Linked DNA regions of Homo sapiens: region 1 is linked to region 2. Evidence: promoter capture Hi-C in 16 types of primary human blood cells and fetal thymus (Javierre and others, 2016). All regions are on one chromosome and are shown on one strand. Each heading gives the region's core, a stretch centred on a gene start or on the middle of the fragment in contact. The rest is flanking DNA. Distances are from core to core; before and after follow the strand shown.

Region 1 (2,700 bases), core at 68-2,567, 190 kb before region 2:
CTTTGATGGAAAATTGCTTCTCTTTTACAAGGTAACAAGCTTCAGCTCTAAGTGCAAATCAGGCTAACATGGACCACTCCAGCCAGGTTACATAGACATGAATGAGTCACTGCTTTTGATGCCAAATTGGCAAATCTGAAGGTTTTACAATGGATGCTATATGGCTATTGTGGAGAAAAATACTCAGGAATTAAACATGAGAGCAACTGGCTTGGTCCTTCTTTAGTTTCAAAGGGTGGAAAGAAGGAGTGCCTTCTGCACAACAGTTGCTAAATACAAGACTGTTGTGGGGTTGCAAGTGGATGATTAAAGATGAGCAAAAACGGTTACATGAGAAAAAAGTTTTTAAGTCAATTGTAAAAACACCAGCCATGAATTGTAAACTGGAAAAAATACGTTGTTATAAAGAAGACTCACAAAAGGAAAAGATCACACACTTGGTTGGAAGAAATAAGTAAAGGCTGATAGAGGAACCATCTGTGACAAGCAGACTCTACTATGGTCCCCAATAATCCCCCACCCTCTTGGTCTTCATGCCCTGTATGATCACCCCTACCTGAGTGTGGGCGGGACCTGGGACTTGTTTCTAACCAACGAAATATTGCAGAGATGATGCCCTGTCACTTCCATGATTAGCTTCCATAAGACCGTGACTTCCATCGTGCCAGCTGACTCTCTGGATCTGATAAAGCATGCGGCCACATAGAGAGGCCCATGGAGCAGGCAGCGGAGGCAGCAAGGAGCTGAGGTCATCAGTCCAAGAGCCCACAAGGAACTGGATCTGGCCAATAATCACAAAAGCCTGGAAGCAGATCTTTCCCCAGTCTGCCTTCAGAAAACTGACACCTTGACTACAGCCTTGTGAGGAACTCTGAAGTAGGGGACCCAGAAGGGCCCTATCCAGATTCCTGACCTACAGAAACTGTGAGATAATAAATGTGTTGGTTGAAGCCACTAAGTTTGTGGCTATTTGTTACACAGTGAGAGATACCTAATACACATCTAAAATGACAGTTTACATTTGAAGAATGGGAGGCCTTTTCACAGGAGATGGCGAACTAGGTGGCATTCATGTCAGAAAAGATAAAGCACAGCCACACAAGGACAGAAGAGGAAAGGGAGTGCTCAGGAACAATACGGAGCCTGGTTAGGCTGGCCCTGAGGTCTGAATGGGCAGATGCAAGAGCAAAGGTTGGAGAGGCAGGGAAGAGGCCCCTGGTGGGCAAGGGGAGCCAGAGAGTCATTAAAGCTCATCACTGACACCATGTGGTCTGAGAACTTCTGCAGGAAGATTCATTTGACACTTGCTAGTTCAAGAGGTAACAGGCTTCAAAAAATGGTTTGGAAAATTCCCATAACAAAATGCTACGCTTTACTCTTTTTAAGGTGCTTTCCCTTCCATTACCTCACTTGATCTATGCAAGAATCATCTGATTTACGTAAGAACCTGTGAAGTAACCAAGACAAGTATTTATTATGAAGGTTTCATACAAATAAGGAAAATGAAGCACTAAGAGGTAAGAATGACTGGCAAAAGCTCTTGTTTAGTACTGTTTTGTCCTACTAAGAGTGCTGCCACATTTTGTTGGATCCCCCTTCCCTGATGGAGAGGTGAACAGAGCTAGCCAGGCAGGTTTGGATCCTGGCCCCACTACACCAGGGTCGGCCCAGAGAGCATATTCATACCTGGAAGAAAAGGTGCAATGAGGCCTGGGTGAACTGCAGAGTCATGGGTGCAGTAGTCTAAAGTGCAGAAGCAGGTACCAAAGGGGCTCTGAAACAGGGCTGAAATGAGTGTCAGAGCCAAGGGGAGCAGCCACATGAGGGTTAGCTAGCTGAGGAGCAGAGATGTGGGACTTCACAGTGCAGCTGAACTTTTGTTCAAGGGACTAGACAAAAGCTATGAAGCGTGGACGGCTGGTTCCACTTACAGGAACAGGGGTGGCATATTCATTCTTTAATGTTTTGAGTTGGGTGGGGTTTTTGTTGTTGTTGTTGTTGTTGTTCTTTTTGTTTGTTTTTTGTTTGTTTTAAGCATTATCTGAAAACCAGGGACAGTTTTCAATTGTAAAATGTTAAATAAGATCTGTCCTTAATGGCGGACATTCTATAGCCAGAGTAGGGCAGCTGTCAGTTCCCTCTCCCCATTCAGAGCCACACGACCCAGTTTTTAGCCAATAGGCTTGGCTAGACTCTTCAATAGCTTTTTAAAAATCTCAACAGGTTATAACCATCATTACTCCAAGTCTATTAGTCAGGCAAAGATTTCCCTTGGCATGTTGTTGCATGACTTGAAAAACCTAGTTGAGAATTCTCTAAGGAGAACGGGAATTATTTAGAGTGATCCAAAGAAGAATCAATGACAGTAGGATGAACTTGTAGGCAAGGATAATTCCACATAGTGACCATGAAAGGGTCTCTAACAAAGGAAAAAATACATAAACCTTAAAGACACGGGTAAAACACCAGTTACCCAAAAGGCTTCATTACTCAACTGAATAAACCCAGCATATGCTGACCAAAGGGATGAAAAGGGAAGAGCTACTTGACTGGCTCGAGCCTTCCCTTCTTGAGCTCTGAAGACCTGAAGCTTAACTTCACAATAGTATTCATCTGTTTTATTTATTTATTTATTTATTTATTTATTTATTTATTCATTTATTTATTTAAGACCAAGTCTCACGCTGTTGCCCAGGCTGG
Region 2 (2,700 bases), core at 1-2,500:
TTTGTTCTCTCTCCAGCCTGCGTCCTGCTCAGCAGCAGCCAGTCATAGATTCCTGCTCTTCAATCAATTCGGGGGATCTGGGCTCTCCGCCTCTGCGGCCCACACCGCAGTGCCCAAATGCCCACCACACTCCTTAGTGTCCAAGGGACCGAGAAGCCCAGTGCAAGGAGAGCAAGTTCGTGAGTGGTAGGGATATGTGGCCATGTCCCGAGAGCCACGGGGACCTCTCTACAGTCAAAAACGGGAAGTTGACCACCTGTCACGGCTGGCAGAGGCTGGACTGGGCCGCTGGCTAGGAAGCTCTCTCCCCAGCCTGTGAAAGTGCACAGGATACTGGAGCGGGCTTCCCCCAGCAGCGGATCCTCGCGTGGGTGCAGGCAAGGTCAGGTGCGCATTGTTCCCACAGAGGGAGTTCACCAGCGGAGTCAGACCCCGGGACGTTCTGTGTGGCCGAAACCGGCTGAACGTGAACCTAGAGCAGTAACTGGCGAGCATACGATGCCGCGGAGCACACGCATGAGCATGAATATCTTGGTTCCGCGCTCGCAGTCCCCTCGTTCCCGCCTTGCGCTCAAACACTCAGGCTGGCGACACCCCTGCACTCTCCAGTGTGGAAGACTTGCGCTCCCCCCTGCGGCCCAGGCGAACCCCGCTCTCCCTGCGCCTCCCACCCCAGTCCTCCAACCCCATCCTCTGCCTCCCCAACCTAACGACGTCGCTGTGGTCTGCGCTCCCGCCCTGACCGGCAGGTGAAAGGCGGAGCTGCAATGCCATCCCGCGGCTGTCAGGTGCCCAGGGAAGAGTTTGGCGACAAGCAGGGCTGCGTGGATTTCGGGCAGCGCCAACTTTATGCCTGTATGACTTTGGGCAAGTGACTTCATTCCTCTGAGCCTGTCTTTGCACCTGCAAAGAGGGCTACGTATCCCTTCCAGGTAGAGTGAGTGCGATGAGGACCTAGTGGGTGCACAGGGCACCAGGCGCACCGATGCTCGGCAGGCCAGGGCGCGCGCTCGCTGCAAATGGAGTTCCCCTGTGCGCTCAGCTCTGCAGCTCCAAGTGCAGCCTGGAGCGAGCCCGCCGAGCCGCGGGATCCCTCCGGGGTGGGATAAGGGAGGGGAGCCCCCGCGGCCCCCTCCCGGCCCTCGGCGCGGCCGCGTGCGTGGTGTCATTGGCCCGGGCGGCCCGGTGGGCGGGAGGATGACATCAGCGGCAGGTTGGATTATAAAGGCGCGAGCAGAGTCACGGGCTCAGAGCGCACCCAGCCGGCGCCGCGCAGCACTGGGACCCTGCTCGCCCTGCAGCCCAGCCAGCCTGCTCCGCATCCCCCTGCTGGTCTGCCCGCCGACCTGCGCGCCCTCGCTGCCGCCCGTGTGCGCCCCTCGACCCCAGCGGCACCATGCATCTCTCCCAGCTGCTGGCCTGCGCCCTGCTGCTCACGCTGCTCTCCCTCCGGCCCTCCGAAGCCAAGCCCGGGGCGCCGCCGAAGGTGGGTGCTGTCGTGGGGACGCCGAGCCTGGGAGAGGCGTGGGAGGCTGGGGGCTTGGAGAATGCGGCGCGCAGGACCCAGGAGAGAGGGAAGGCAGGCGGCTGTCTCCTCCGAGATGCGCGTGGGCGAGAGCCGGGGAGCCCTCGAAGCGCGGATTCGGGGGTCCACTTCTCCAGCCTCCGGAGAACATCGGCCCATGCGCAGCCCCCTACCCCAGTGTGGCCTGCCCGGCGAGCAGCAAAGGGAGGGCAGGGGGCTTCCGGAGGGAGCGGCGAAGGCGGCCGCGTGGCAGGTGGATGCGGGGCCAAGCTGGCCGGCATCGGTGGGGGCGGCTCTGGGCTTGGGAGGGACACCCCGCGCCGGCGGGCGCGTGGGGCTGGAGCATCAGAGTCCCCCGTGCTGCAGCCGCGTGTCCCTTCACCTGCCCGCTCTTTCCTCGGACAGGTCCCGCGAACCCCGCCGGCAGAGGAGCTGGCCGAGCCGCAGGCTGCGGGCGGCGGTCAGAAGAAGGGCGACAAGGCTCCCGGGGGCGGGGGCGCCAATCTCAAGGGCGACCGGTCGCGACTGCTCCGGGACCTGCGCGTGGACACCAAGTCGCGGGCAGCGTGGGCTCGCCTTCTGCAAGAGCACCCCAACGCGCGCAAATACAAAGGAGCCAACAAGAAGGGCTTGTCCAAGGGCTGCTTCGGCCTCAAGCTGGACCGAATCGGCTCCATGAGCGGCCTGGGATGTTAGTGCGGCGCCCCCTGGCGGCGGTGAGTACGGCCCACCCGACGCCCAGCCCCAGCCCGGCCCGGGACCGCCCGCCGCCCAGCCGGCCTTCGGAGGCGCGCGAGCCGCCTTTGCTCAAGTTGTGCTAGGCGTTTGCCAGCCGCCCCCTTTATTATCCCACTTTACAGACAAAGAAAGCGAAGGATAACGTGATCGGGGAACTTTGGCAAGGTCAGAAACGGCTCAGCCTGGTTGAACCCACCTGGCTTCTTCTGGAGAAGCAGAAACAGGCTTGGTGGTGTCTCACCCACCCCTGAACCGTAGCTGAACTAGCAGCACTGGCCCCTATTGGCCAGCTGGTGGGGGGATTGAGAGGAGATCATGGGTTTGTGGGAGCAGAGAAGGAAGGTTACACCCACAAGTCCAGGGGACATCGATCATCTGCTGGCCACCATGCCCCCTGTAGTGAGAGTAGCCCTCTGCTGGCACTGTCAGAGCGCCCT

What was found. Contacts are between HindIII fragments. The CHiCAGO score rates a contact against its expected background, and 5 or more counts as called.
Region 1: a contact is called between a fragment that was not itself captured here and the fragment with the promoter of NPPC in region 2, in 1 of 17 cell types (endothelial precursors). The highest score is 7.0, in endothelial precursors.

The regions. Positions count from the first base shown.
Region 1 is chr2:232,116,140-232,118,839 of GRCh38, reverse strand. The region is part of intron 6 of DIS3L2 (DIS3 like 3'-5' exoribonuclease 2); the gene reads right to left. Among named protein-coding and RNA genes, the nearest start is that of MIR562, 55 kb to the left of the region's middle. The HindIII fragment of the contact is 2,551 bases long and covers 42-2,592 here.
Region 2 is chr2:231,924,946-231,927,645 of GRCh38, reverse strand. It overlaps NPPC (natriuretic peptide C), which reads left to right and starts at 1,250. Exons shown (of 3, transcript NM_024409.4): 1 at 1,250-1,486; 2 at 1,931-2,241. The coding sequence starts at 1,397. The coding sequence ends at 2,221. RefSeq lists an enhancer at 1-560 and silencers at 962-1,181, 2,137-2,186, 2,267-2,356. The HindIII fragment of the contact is 15,333 bases long and covers 1-2,700 here.